Linked DNA regions of Homo sapiens: regions 2 and 3 are each linked to region 1. The links are contacts of gene promoters, found by promoter capture Hi-C in human tissues and cell types (Jung and others, 2019). All regions are on one chromosome and are shown on one strand. Each heading gives the region's core, a stretch centred on a gene start or on the middle of the fragment in contact. The rest is flanking DNA. Distances are from core to core; before and after follow the strand shown. Region 1 holds the start of PMP2 (peripheral myelin protein 2). Region 2 overlaps LOC101927118 (a long non-coding RNA gene). Region 3 overlaps LOC101927118 (a long non-coding RNA gene).

What was found. Contacts are between HindIII fragments. The study calls those that stand out against the background at their distance.
Region 2: a fragment that was not itself captured here is called in contact with the fragment with the promoter of PMP2 in region 1 in 2 of the 25 tissues and cell types used here (dorsolateral prefrontal cortex and mesenchymal stem cells).
Region 3: a contact is called between a fragment that was not itself captured here and the fragment with the promoter of PMP2 in region 1, in 1 of the 25 tissues and cell types used here (liver).

Annotation. Positions count from the first base shown.
Region 1 is chr8:81,444,708-81,449,719 of GRCh38, reverse strand. PMP2 (peripheral myelin protein 2) reads left to right here and starts at 2,281. Exons shown (of 4, transcript NM_002677.5): 1 at 2,281-2,406; 2 at 4,731-4,903. The coding sequence starts at 2,334. The HindIII fragment of the contact is 7,076 bases long and covers 216-5,012 here.
Region 2 is chr8:81,507,546-81,512,557 of GRCh38, reverse strand. The region is part of intron 1 of LOC101927118 (a long non-coding RNA gene); the gene reads right to left. Among named protein-coding and RNA genes, the nearest start is that of FABP12, 24 kb to the left of the region's middle. The HindIII fragment of the contact is 4,592 bases long and covers 106-4,697 here.
Region 3 is chr8:81,491,858-81,496,869 of GRCh38, reverse strand. All of the region lies in intron 1 of LOC101927118 (a long non-coding RNA gene), which reads right to left. Among named protein-coding and RNA genes, the nearest start is that of FABP4, 11 kb to the right of the region's middle. The HindIII fragment of the contact is 5,989 bases long and covers 1-5,012 here.

The DNA of each region.
Region 1 (5,012 bases), core at 1,032-3,531:
AGTCTAAATATATACATCTAGTTATAATGTGGTTCTATGCATTCTTTCTTGTTAGGACATTGATGACTTTCTTAGCTAGGAGTGATGTAATGTTTCAGGCCTAGTTCAGTCCGGGTCTTCCCTCATTGCTTTGATCTGTGCCTTTGGCCCATATATTGGCCTCAGAATCCCATCACGGTCCAAACTTGTCTGGTCAGTTCTATTAATAGCAGTCAGGTACAATTGCTGATAAGCCTTAAGTAGAAAATTTTTCTCTTGGTCTAATATTGCTTCAAAGTTATAAGTTTTCTCTCTTGGAAATATATGGCTCAATGTTTATGTTTTAAACTCCACTGCTGTTCCTATGTGCAACACAGAGTCAGCTTAAAATTCACACAGCTTTCTTGTAGCAGTCCCACTGAATACAAGGTCTCAGCTCTAGTGTGAGGGTTTGGGAGTCCTTCATTTATTTAGGCAGAAAACCTAAATGTTGAATGCTGTACTCCTTAATAGTGTACAGCTAACAAAAAAAAAAAAGTTTTGAAGGTACAAGTGATATCATCATTTCTGTAAAGTGTTTTGGAAAATAAAATAACATATCCACTAATCAAAAGCTTTTTCTTTCACAGTTGTTTTTTCTATCCCAGTACAATGTACTCCCTCCAGTTACATTCTCTTGGGTTTAGGATTGGGTTAGTTGGTTAGCTGAGGAATTTTCCTATTCACCATTTCTTTCCCACCTTGAGCTATTCAGGCACTGGGATTGTAAATGAAACTTCAGCCCACTGTATATGATTTCACGTGTTTTACTCAGCTTGAACTCTAACTATGTAACTGCAATAGTTATGTCACAGCTATGCGACTGGGTTTCTTGAGCCCTTCTTGCTAGTAATTCTACCTGTTATGAGCAAATTCATCATATTTTTGTTGTTGTAAACAGTGCCAACCTGTTTACTAAATGTATAAAACTTGGTAATATCAGTTGTCTCCAGCCAGAATTAATGCTAAGGTAAAAACAAACAACAAACAAACAACAACAAAAACAAACAAACAAAAAACCTGCTAGGAAAGATATAGCAGTAATCAGAGATTCTCAAGAGCAACACTTATGTTCTAAGTGGATTTACGTTTGTTCCCCTTGGCCAAAGACTGGGGCTTTGATGTAATATAGTAGGCTGGATCTTTTGATTTTTTACCTCTCTTGATTTTTGAGAAGAGAGAGAGTGTTTCTAGCTAATCGTGGTGCTATCAGCATCAGGTGATCTCTGGCCAGGGCCTCCGTGCACGTAGCATGTATGGTATAGTATAATAGAAGCAGGGTAAGATCATGGTTCAGAACCCGGGCACTGGCAGCAATGCTGGGTTCAAACCTGTCCTCTCCTTATTCAACTTTTGGGAGCAATTTACCTAATGTCCCCAAGCTCATTTTTATCATTGGTAAAATGGATATAATAATAGTTCCTAACTCTTGGAATTAGTGATATAATTAAATGAGATCACCCGTATTAAGCACTTAGCACAGTGTCTGGCCCATAGTGAGTTGTCAATATAAATTAGTACTCTTTCTATAGAAAATCCTCTTTATAAAATTGTAGATTCATTTTAAATGACTTAAACACAAATAGTTATAGTATCCAGGAACCTGCTTAGTTCAGACTTTAAGTATTTCTAGCTGAAAATCTTTGTTGTGCTCAAAGAACATGTTATAGTGCTACTTCTTGTTTCATCACATGAATACAATTTCTGTGCTCTGCTGCAATAGACTGACTTCTTTGTCTGCCTACTCTGCCTGCCTGGGATATGTGAACTATGCCAAGCCTTCTTACCTATGAATACTTCCTCACACTGCTCCCCTACGTTTCTCTCCCACAACATATTTGAGACTGTTATCATAATACTTACAGACATTTTCCTCTTTTTCTTCCCTTTCAATAAGAATTCTTAATTGTGCAGACTCAGGATTGAGAGTGACCGACATGCCTAAACACACACACATTCATTCATGATCACAGAATTCATGCAGTCTTTTCCAAAGCATGAAGGGCCTAAGCCTTCTTATAAATGTAAGATTGATCAAAAAATTTTTGAAGATTCAAATAGTAATCTCATTCATTTTATAAATTTTTTTGGAGACAAAGGGAAGTATTATGTGGGGTTTTCTTTTATCCTATTGGGCGGGCAGCTGGCCATTGAAGAGCCATTCATTGCTTAGTCCCGACACTGCCTTTCCCCATTGGGTCTCTGTAAGAGTCACACGCTTTGGGCATCCTTGAAAAGAATCTTCTGAGGCCTCAGCATTTTATCTGAGTCTTCTGAATCCCACTTAGAACTGTGTTGAGCTCTCACCCATCACGATGAGCAACAAATTCCTGGGCACCTGGAAACTTGTCTCTAGTGAGAACTTTGACGATTACATGAAAGCTCTGGGTAAGAAATGCTTTTTGTTGTTCTGCTGAAAAGCTCCTTTTTAAGAAAGCTACATGACATTTTCATCTACTACTTTTAACAGGATACTGGGGAGTTTTGCAAGGCTGCAGTACAATCCTCTTTTAGGATTAATCTTTTGTTGTGTCATTCAGATAATTTATTTGAATTTTATTTGTGGTAATTTTTAATAGAATTAACTTAAATGAGAGAGCTGCTTAAATGCATGGAATGCCCACTGATTTCAAGGGCAATTTCATACCAAGAGAATTTTGGTTGCAGGTCCAGAGGAGAGAAAGCTTAAAAGCATGGTCAACCCATTTTCTGGCTTTTCTGAGAGCTACGTTCATAGCAACTGAAGTGTTCATAAAATAAGGAATTGAATATATTGCAAATCCTAGAAAATCTCAATTTAAAAATTTAAGTTTTAGCTAAACTAACAGTTTTTTCTCTCTACCTCTAGGTTGTCCTTTATTACACAATCATGTAGATACAGAGAGTTTGAAAAACAAAAATACTTCCTAAAATACTGTGTTCATAGTCTAGGGAAGTTACTGAGAGAAAAAGAACTGGAGTTATGGCAGTGAATTCAAACTCAATTTCGCTAACATCAGACGTTTCTGGAGTTGGAGCAGTGAGTGAAGATGGAAAACCGAGTCATTAGTTACAACAACTTTATTTTATACTATTTCTAGAGTATGTCCCATCGATATAAACACAATAGATATGAAGAGTCTTTGGGAATTTTCAGAACTATATAAATACAATAAAGAGTGATGCCAGTGACCCGAGTTTGCTGTGCTTGTCAAAGTGCCTACAGCTTTACTTAACTGTTCAGAAAGCCTGTATAAAATGTTCTATTTTAGATAAAATGAGCAAAGTCATGTCATTGTTGCCTGGAACAGTAAGAGAACTTATGGGGATCAATTCATACTGTGAGATCGGTTAGATTTAAAGACTTCACTTTACAGCTGAGGAAGAAGCCAAATAAAAGAAAGTCTCAGTGAAGGATTTTCTAATTCCACTGTTTTCCAGTTTAGCATGCAAAATAACACCTTGGGATTTGGTAAATATAAATTCTCAGGCTCTGACCCAGAGATTATGATTTAACTTGAGAAACATTGTCCTAAACTGTATAAAATAACAAAAGATTAATCAGAATTTGAAGAAAGAATATAGTTTATAGTTTATTGGCTGTAACTCTTAACTTCTTATTCAGTATGTAAAAGTTTGAGATCTTTTTAACTGGAAAAAGTTATTCAACCATTGAGACTTCCTGGAAAATTAGTTTTTCTTTCATATATTTTTTATTTTACATTTTCCCTTTTCCATATATTTTATAGTCTTGGTAATAATGGTAATAAACTTAAGAGTCTAATTTTGTTTCATTTTTGAAATGTAGAAGAGTTTTTTAAAAAATATTTTATTTCTCTATGATCATTTATAATAGTATAGATCTCAAAGTTAGATGGATAGTTTTTTTCCTACCAGCTAGATATAGAAGCCACAAAATTTCAGAAGTGAAATTCTATCAAAAATATGAGGGGAATACTTCTCTATATCCATAATATGGTATTGAGGGAAAATATCATAGAACAATACGTATATGCTATAGTCTCATCTTTAAAATATATCTATAGTATTTGTACATACAAACTAAAATCTCTAGAATGATTTATGCAAATCTATAATTAGTAATTTTCAATGGGGAATAGGATTGGATGTGATAAAAATGGATGACTTGCAGTAGCTATTTCAGCTGGAAACTTTTACTCTTGAAAATCTGCAGACATTGGCCGGGCGCGGTGGCTCACGCCTGTAATCCCAGCACTTTGGAAGGCCGAGGAGGGCAGATCACGAGGTCAGGAGATCGAGACCATCCTGGCTAACACGGTGAAACCCCGTCTCTACTAAAAATACAAAAAATTAGCCAGGCGTGGTGGCGGCCCCTGTAGTCCCAGCTACTCGGGAGGCTGAGGCAGGAGAATGGAGTGAACCTGGGAGGCGGAGCTTGCAGTGAGCCGAGATTGCTCCATTGCACTCCAACCAGGACGACAGAGCGAGACTCCGTCTCAAAAAGAAAAGAAAAAGAAAAAAAAAAAAGAAAATCTGCAGACTTTACTTTTGCAACAACAAAACCTAAAATGTTTGAGTCCTGGGCATGTATTTCCATTAGGAGTGAAACATGGGAGGAGATGCTTAGTAGTAAGTGATATTACCTGCCATCAACTCACCTGGGGCACCACTGAGCGTAGGATGTGGCCACCACAGTCTCTTTGGCTATGCTCTCTTGGTCAACATAATTCTAACACTATCTTAATTTTCAGGTGTGGGGTTAGCCACCAGAAAACTGGGAAATTTGGCCAAACCCACTGTGATCATCAGCAAGAAAGGAGATATTATAACTATACGAACTGAAAGTACCTTTAAAAATACAGAAATCTCCTTCAAGCTAGGCCAGGAATTTGAAGAAACCACAGCTGACAATAGAAAGACCAAGGTAATCTTTAATGTTTCTCTTCAAAGTTGGCCCAGTGGGCTGCTTGAGAGAGAGGAATATTCCTGCTAGTGTAAAAGGGTAGACTCAATTCTGTTGAAAAGGAGTGTAC
Region 2 (5,012 bases), core at 1,152-3,651, 63 kb before region 1:
TTCGATATTTTCTTTTATTATGTAATTTTTAAATCTTCCCATCTCTCTGATTTTCCAATTTTTTAGATTTATGTTATTTGTGGGCAGAGGCTTACTAGATTGTCAGAGGCATTGGTTTTCTTGCCTTTTCCTCCCCTTGTTTATCTCTACCTAGTTGTACAAGCAGACTTGCCTTTGAACACTTCCTGAAAGATATTACATCTACTGCTTTATTTCTACCTACTCTCTCTATCATTTATTATAGAAAGATTTATCTAAAGGCTTTCATACATTTAATGTTCAAGTTTTCATTTCTCTGTCTCTTCTTTGTTCTAGATGTCTGTTGTCCAGTATTTTTCTCAGTCGAATTTTAAACTGACCAGTCTCTTTGTTAAATAATTTTATTGAGATATATTTGACATAGAACAAACTACACATATTTAAATTATACACTTTGATATATTGTGATCCATGCATACACCTGTGAAACAATCACCACAATTAAGATAATGAGCATATCCATTACTCCCAAAAGTTTCCTCCTGCCCTTTGGTGTCCCTTTCCATGCCACTCCCCCTGTCTTTGCCCCACCCCATCTGAAGGCAATCACTGATGATCACCTCCCTTTCACTATAGATTAGTTTTCATTTTCTAGAGTTTCTTGTAAATGGAATCATACACTCTTTTCTCTTTTTTTTTTCTGGGTTTTTAAACTCATCATAATTACATGTATCCTTCATTTCTTTTTATTTCTGTGTAGTATTTCTTTGTATAGATACCATAATTTGTTTATCTGTTCACTTATTGGTATACTTTAGGGTTATTTTATGTTTCTGCCTATTGCAAATAAAGCAGCTATAAGCAGTTATGCATAGACCTTTCCCTGGACACTTATTTCTTTTGGATAAATACCAAGGGATGGAATGGCTAGATCATATGGTAAGTGCATGCTTAATTTTAAAGAAATTTTCAACCAATATTTCAAAGTGGATATACTATTTAACGTTCTCACCAGCAGTGTATGAAAGTTTCAGTTTCTTCACATCCTTGTCAACATTTGGGTCAGTCTTTTTCATTTTAGCTATTCTAACATGTGTATAGTAGTGACCGTCCTCTTTTTATTATAATTTTTCTATGTTTAGATACATTTCCAGATTTTTATAAGTTCTATGAAATCTTATATATACTGACCCTAATTATTAGACATAAAGGTGAAATGTATGAATGAAGAAAATGTCTTTTAAGAAATTGGGGGAGTAAAATTATGATGGGTTATTCTCAAAAAGATTGACTCTAGAGACAATAAGGTCCATGTGTTAAGTATTAGCCTCCCATATAGGAGAAACTAGTACAGGTCCAGGAGGAATAATTTGAGAGATATCATGAAAGCTTTTCTTCATTCCCCTTCTCCTCTGAGATCTCCTATCAGGAGAACTCTAATGACACATTTTCCCTTTGACTCTTCAAAATGTTTCTATCTTCAAGAGTTCCATTTTGAAACCAAATACTACTTAAAGGAAAAGGACTACCTTAGGCCCAGTTGTCACCTAACACTGGATGAGTTTAAGTTTTGCAAGGTCTTATGGGCAAGCAGCCTTATGGTCTACAGGCTATTGATGTAACTGCACCATCAGGGTAGTATCTCTCCTTTTTGCCCTCCTACAAAACTCTAAAGATTTCAGGCTACTCATAAATGCAAATACCTGACTGAGCTCTGTGGAGCTAAAAGTGTGCTATGCCCATTCCACTGCTGCAGATACTCTGTTTTACCATAGATATTGTGCATTCTTTCACATTGTTCATGAAAAATTAACAATCTAAGCACAGGTGAATGCAAATATAAAACAAATTTATCATAGCAAATATGTCAATATTTGTCAACTCTATGAGCACAGATAATATTTCTCTTTTTTATTAAAAAAGAGCATCTTTAATTGATTCCTCAGATAACTTTTTTTCCAGATTGTTCTTATGTTTTCTTTTTGGCTGATATTCAAATTCAGGAGATACACAAATAAAATACAGTACATACACAAATGAAATGCTAATAAAATCATCTCTACGGAACAAAGGCAGGATAGTGTATCAGAGGAATAAAAGCAAATGTGAATAAGGGATTTTTACTCTCCAAAACTATAGGCTTCATTTGGCCTTGAGAGAGCCATTGGGCAAGGCATCTTGTGACAGGAGCCATAGGGATGTTGGTAGGGCTATGAGATAAGAGCAGTATACATAACCCTCACCTAGAACAAATGGGCAGAGCTCAGAAAGAGACATGCCACTAAAAATGCTTCTCCTGGCCACAGGGTTTTCTGTGCAGCCTCCCATGGATCAACATACCAGTTGGTCAACCCACACATCAGTATTTTCATCCTTTAGAAGCAATGATGGTATTTGCACTGGGAACTGTGATCTATGTATTAATGGGGCAGCATGAGTCAACTGTAGTAAATTTTCTAAATATTTATTTACTTTTAAAATAAACTTTATTTTTAAAGCACCTTTAAGTTCACAGCAAAATTGAGTTGAAGATACAGTGATTTCTCATCTACCCTGTCTCTACACATGCCTAGCCTCTCCCATTACCAACATCCCCCACCACAGCGACGCAGTTGTTACAACTGGACAACCTACACTGACACATCATTATCACCCAAAGTCCCTGGTTTATGTTAGAGTTCACTGTTGGTGTTGTACATTATATGGGTTTGGACAAATGTATAATGACAACTATCTACCATTATAGTATCATACAGAATCGTTTCACTGCCCTAAACATCCTCTGTGCTTATTCATTCCTCTCTTCCCCCTAACTCCCGGCAACCACTGATCTTTTTCATTTGTTCCGGGATATTATATAGTTGGAATTGTGCAGTAGGTGGCCTTTCTTATTGATTTCTTTTACTTAGTGATGCATTTAAGTTTCCTGTGTGATTTTTCATAGCTAGATAACACATTTCTTTTTATCACTGAATATTCCATTGTCTGCATGTACCACGGGTTATCCATTTACCTACTGAAGGACATCTTGGTTGCTTCCAAGTTAGAGCAAAATTATTAATGAAGCTGTTAAAACATCTATGTGCAGATTTTTGTGTGGACATATGTTTTCAATTGTTTTGGGTAAATACCAAGGAGTGCAGTTGCGTGGTATAGTGATGACGGGGAGAGTAAGTTTAGTTTTGAAGTAAGCTGCAAAACTGTCTTCCAAAGTGGCTGTACCATTTTGTACCCACTGGCAATGAATCAGAGTTCCCATTGATCCACATCCTCACTAGCATTTGGTGTTGCAGTGTTCTGAATGTTGTTCGTTCTAATAGGCATGTAGTGGTATCTTGTTGTTTTATTTGAAATTCGCTGATGACATATGATGTGGAGCATCTTTTCATATGCTTATTTGTCACCTGTTTATCTTCTTTTGTGAGGTATCTGTTCAAGTGTTTTGCCCATTTTTAAATCAAGTTATTCATCTTCCCATTGTTGAGTTTCAAGAGTTATTTGTACATTTTGAATAACAGTGTTTTATCAGATATATTGTTTGCAAATATTTTCTCCCAGTCTGTGGCTTGTCTTCTTGTTCTCTGGACAGTGTCTTCTGCAAAGCAGGCATTTTTTAATTTTAATGAAGTCCAGCTTATCAATTATTTCTTTCATGGATTGTGCCTTTGGAGTCATATCTAAAAAGTCATCACCATACCAAAGATCAGCTAGATTTTTCTCCTATGTTTTCTTCTAGGAGTTTTATAGTTTTTGCATTTTACATTTAGGTCAGTAATCCACTTTGACTTACTTTTTGTGAAGGGTATGAGGTTATATCTAGATTCTTTTTTTGCATGTAGATGTCCAGTTGTTTCAGCACCATTTGCTGAAAAGACTCTTTGTTCTATTGTGTTGCCTTTGCTCCTTTGTCAAAGGTCAGCTGACTATATTTATGTGGGTCTATTTCTGAGCTTTCTGTTCTGTTCCATTGATCTATTTGCCCTTTCTTTCACCAGTACTGCACTGCTTTGATTATTGTACTTTATAGTATGTCTTGATGTCGATCCTCCAACTTTTTCTCCTTCAATATTGTGTTGGGTATTCTCGGTCTTTTGTATCAACATATAAACTTTAGAATCAGGTTGTCAATATTTACAAAATTACTTGCTGGCATTTTGATTGAAATTGCATTGAATCTATAAATCAAGATGGGATGAACTGACATCTTGACAATATTGAGTCTTCCTATTATGAGCATGAAATATCTATTTATTTAGTTTTCCCTTGATTTCTTTCATAAGTTTTATAGTTCCCCTTTAGTTCTTATAGATATTTTGTTAGATTTCTATCTAAGTGTTTCATTTTTAGGGGTGGTGATATAAATGGTATTGTGGAGACTAATTTAGACTCCACTTGTTAATTGTTGGTAAATAGAAAAGCAATTGACATTTGTGTATTAACCTTGTATCCTGCAACCCCTCTATACTTACTTTTTAGTTCCAGAAGGTTTTTTTTGTTGATTCTTTTAGATTTTCTACATAGATGATTGTATCATCAGCAAACAGAAACAGTTTTATTTCTTCCTTCCCAATCTGTATATCTTTTATTCCTTTTCTTGTCTTATTGCATTAGCAGATAACATATCTTAATGTGTATTTGTTATCCCCTTTCCTCACCTTCTCCCTTTTCTTGATACCTGGCATATGGTGGTGGTGGTAGGATTATACCAAAAAGATATTTAAAATGAATTACATCAGCTGGGCGCAGTGGCTCAAGCCTGTAATCCCAGCACTTTGGGAGGCCAAGGCAGGTGGATCACGAGGTCAGGAGATCAAGACCATCCTGGCTAACATGGTGAAACCCCATCTCTACTAAAAATACAAAAAATTAGCTGGGCATGGTGGCGGGTGCCTGTAGTCCCAGCTACTTGGGATGCTGAGGCAGGAGAATGGCATGAACCCGGGAGGTGGAGCTTGCAGTGAGCCAAGATCATGCCATTGCACTCCAGCCTGGGCGACAGAGCAAGACTCCATCACAAAAAAAAAAAAAAAAAA
Region 3 (5,012 bases), core at 1,613-4,112, 47 kb before region 1:
TACATTTGCAGAGTTTGGCAAGACAACTAGGAAAAAGAGCAAGAGCTAGAATAACTTCTTCCAAGTTCCAGGGCAATCAGAAATCAAAACCCCAGAGGGACCTGGAAAAAGGGAAATTTCACTTTGGAATTACTGGGAATGTTTAAGCTCATAGTCTTGCCTGATAATCTTATTAAAAGGATTCTGATTCTTTCCTTTGGCTAAACCAGAAAAGGAAAAGAAATACAGTCTTTAAAATTTGGACATGTTAGGGCAAAGAAAAAAGCATTTCCAATTAGATGTTTTCCCTAAGCCAGAACTCCTTCCTTTCGGAATTTAAGAAATAAATAATTAAGACAATTTAAAGAATATAAATATATTCCAGAGAACATCTTGGAGCAGCAACACAAATATTAAAAATATAGAGTTAAACTTCAATGATTATATGAAAAAGCACAGGCTTCAATGTACAAATGAACTTACAAACTCCACAATTTTTTTGCCAAAACATTAAATTATTTCCCCAGAAAAAAAGGACATAAGAGAAATCCTGAAAAAAATCAATTCTGTCAAAGTAATGCATGATTCTTTACACACACATGCAGTGTTAATCTACTCAGAAATAATCAAGGGGTTCTCTTTATTTGCACTAGATGAAAATGTTGCTACCTAGAATTTTCATTCATTATTATTTAACACTAGTAGCAATTATTAACAGAGATTTTAAAAGACATTTTTAAGCATTTGTATTCATCGATATACCTCTGAAGAACGATTGATATTTTTGTCTGGGCAAACCAAATTATTCTTGGTAGAATTCCTTGCTCTCTGCAATACTAATGATTGGAGGCAGCTTCATCATGCACACAGCCATGGGAGGGTTATGAAAAGGACAGATGGTCCCAAAGGTACACTCTTCGTCTTGGAAATCATAATGTTAGGAAACACAATCAACAGTTTCCTGAAGGTTAAATTAGTTTTTATGCTGGGTTTTCTCTGTTGATTTGCATGTTTAAGGAAGTACTGTACTATTTGTGTATTTATTGCAAATTAGCTCTTAATTTGATTAGGCTACCTAGTTCTCTGACTGATAAACCTGTTCATACAACATTGTCTTTAGTACATGTAGGACACTCTCCAATGAAATGCACTTCAGAGAATCAGCATTAAAAGAGAATTAAAATCACAAGGTCTTTTTATCTCAGAAAAAAATTTAATATTTTAAAATGGTTTCCTATACCTACTATGAGAAAAAAATCACCTGCCTTGAGAGCTATGCAAATTCCCAAGCACACTTTGTAAGGTCTGGTTTTTTTTTTTTTTTTTTTTTTTTTTCTGAGATGGGGTCTTGCTATGTTGGCTAGGCTGGTCTCAAACTCCTGGGCCCAAGTGATCCTCCTGATCAAACTCCTGAGTAGCTAAGATTACAGGTGTGAGCCACCATGCCCTGCTGTAAGGTCTTGAGTGGTCTTGAGAAAGTAGTTATGACTTAGATACAGTCCCAGAAATTTACATGCCTCATTATTTCAGAAGCTGATGAAAATACACAGTCAAAGGTTCTAGACTTCACCTCTCCAATTGAAATTTGAAAAGGTCCCATCATCTGCTCTAAGTCTTTCCAAGAGAAGTTGCTTCAAACTCTTCACTCACACACTTTTTCTTTTAGCAGAAGACCATGAATACTAATGTTTACATATAATGTTACTTATTTTCTCATTCAATTATTTGCCCTTTCCCAAGCTGGGTCCTTGATGATAGATAGCCAGATACTCAGTCTGTCACCAAATATGTGTCGAGTGACTGTTGACTACTGTGAATCAGGGTCTGTACAAGCTTCTGGCTCTTGGTCTAGTACTCAAGTTTGTGTTTTTTAAATCTACTTGCTTTGTGCCCATTTTGGCTATTTCAAGTGATAAGTCCCATTGAAAGCAAGTCCCATTTTAAGCCAGTTCCTCTGAGAGGAAATAGGTCATCTATTGGTAGGAGTTTAAAGAATATGATCTCTTTGGAGGGCACTTTAAAACTTTAAATATATATCAACATTTAAATGTATATAACCATTGGTCCATCAATTCTACCTCTAGCATGAATTATAGCAAAATATTTACACAACTAAACAAAGGTATATATGTACAAGAATGTTTACTAAAACAATTTTTAATAATGAAAAGCTGGAGTATTGGTTAAAACATGGCACCTATGTAAATGGAATACTTGGCAGCAATTTTTTTAAAAAATAAGACATATCTATACCACTGACACGAAAAGATGACCACAGTGTATTACTAAGTGGAGAGGAAGGTTATGGAAAGAGTGTATACATACACAGTCTTGATATTGTGAAAGAAAAATAAATATTGGGGCCCTCAAATCGCTAAGCTAAAGGGAAAAGTCAAGTTGGGAACTGCTCGGGGCAAACCTGCCTACCATTCTATTCAAAGACACCCCTCTGCTCACTGAGATAAATGCATATCTGATTGCCTCCTTTGGAGAGGCTAATCAGAAACTCAAAAGAATGCAACCACTTGTCTTTTATCTACCTATGACCTGGAAGCCCCCTCCCTGCTTAGAGTTGTCCTGCATGTTTGTTTCGAGATGTCCCACCTTTCTGGACCAAACCAATGTTCAACTTACATATATATTGATGGATGTCTCATGCATCCCTAAAATGTATAAAACCAAACTGTGCTCTGGCCACCTTGGGCACATGTCATCAAGACCTCCTAGGCCGGGCGCGGTGGCTCACGCCTGTAATCCCAGCACTATGGGAGGCCGAGGTGGGTGGATCACGAGGTCAGGAGATCGAGACGTTCCTGGCTAAAACTGTGAAACCCCGTCTCTACTAAAAATACAAAAAATTAGCCGGGCGTGGTGGCGGGTGTCTGTAATCCCAGCTACTTGGGAGGCTGAGGCAGAAGAATGGCGTGAACCTGGGAGGCGGAGCTTGCAGTGACCTGAGATCGCGCCACTGCACTCCAGCCTGGGCGACAGAGCGAGACTCCGTCTCAAAATAAAACAAAAACAAAAACAAACAAACAAAAAAAACTCCTGAGGCTGTGTCACGGGCCCGTGTCCTCAACCTTATCAAAATAAACTTTCTAAACTAACTGAGAGCTGTCTCAGATTTTTGGGGTTCACAATATTATCCAATGTCTTTAATAAAATTCATATTCCATGTGTATGTTTGCATATGTATTGAAAAAGACTGAAAAGTGTATTCATGGAATTGTTAAAACTTATGATCACTGAAGAATGACACAATTACTTTCTCTTCTATATAGTTTGAATTTTTGTATCAAGTATATATTAATCTTTAAAATATCAAAAATATTCTCATCTGGAGAAGAAAATTTTCCACTATGAAAAGAGGAGAGTGTTAACATGGTATTATCTCTTAAGAAAAAAAATCTTGTTCTGTGTCATGGATATCAACAAAACTCATTTTGAATTTTATGAATTTCTATAGCTGAGATTGGTCTCAAAATTAAACTTTCACTCCAGAATTATTGCTAAAGAAAGCTCAGTGTTTTGAGAGTTTTGAGACCAAAGATGATGCTCAGAGAGGCTATTCTGCATCAGAGAAAATTTTCTAATTTTTCCCAGCCCAGGACACACAACCCCAAGTTTGTGATTTGTCTTCTAGGACTATATTATTATTATTACTACTATTATTAATATAAGCTGCCACCTGCCGAGTAAGGTATATGTTAAGGAACATATGCAACTATATGCTAAGCAACATGCAAAATACTTGGCATTTAAGATTGCTAATCTAAACAATAGCAATAAAGCATAGTTTTTCAATTTTACAGATGAGAAAGCTGAGTGTCACAGAAATTAACTAGCTTGCCAAAGATCACAAGCTAGTGAATAGTGCCAATCAAATTTCAACATGTCTTAATACCAGAGCTCATGGTTGTTTTATTCCATAACACAGTTTATAAGGCAACCAAGAAAATGTCACAGGTATGTTCATATCCATTGAATATAAGCTTTAATACAATGACAAAGTTGTAAAGGATGATAGTCTCTTCACAGCATAGAATTGCCATCAAGAATCTTGCAGCAGAAGGAATAACATCTAGATGTGGAGAATCTTGGCAAGCCACAGTAATAAATGCAGTAATTTATTCTGCATTTATTCACATTTCACCTAGTGAGAGAGGATTTTCGTCAAGAGGGAAGTTAACACCCAGATGGCAAATGTATTTCACAGATGCCTGACGTTTGTGGTTTCTTACTCGATCAGAGTTCACTGGGGGAAATCTCACAGCAAAAGTGCCTCCCAGAAAGAATACTCAGTGTTTCCTTGTAATCAAAATTGTTCCTGGATGAGCTGCTCCTGTTCTGTCTCTTTATCAGCATCTCATCACAGTTAGTGCCTATTGTGGCATCTGCTGCTATCTGGTGTTTTCATTCCAGCACATGGTTCTCACTTTGTCTGCAAACTTAAGGTACCTGTGTCTTCATCCCAATGTGCCATCTCTCACTTTTCCCCTTCCTCTCTCATTCCTCTTTACTTTTTTTCTCCTTATTTTTCTCTTTCTCCTCTCTAACCTCTTCCCCATTTTTCTCTCTCAAACATTATTTCCCAAGTGTCTACTATGAACCAGAAACTCATGCCTACTGTTTGCCAGAAATGCTCTGCATGTACAACTGCCCCTTCAAGAAGCTCACAGTCTGAGGCCGGATGCGGTGGTTCACGCCTGTAATCCCAGCACTTTGGGAGGCCAAGGTGGGTGGATCACTTTAGGTCAGGAGCTCCAGACCAGCCTGGCCAACATGGTGAAACCCTGTCTCCACTAAAAATACAAAAATGAGCCAGGTGTGGTGGTGCACTCCTGTAATCCCAGTTACTCGGGAGGCGAGGCACAAGAATCGCCTGAACCTGGGAGGCAGAGGCTGCAGTAAGCTGAGATTGTGCCATTGCACTCCAGCTGGGCAACAGAGCAAGACTCTGTCAAAAAAAAAAAAAAAACCCAAGACGCTCATAGTCTGGAGGTCAGAAACATAAGCACATATGGTTATGATGT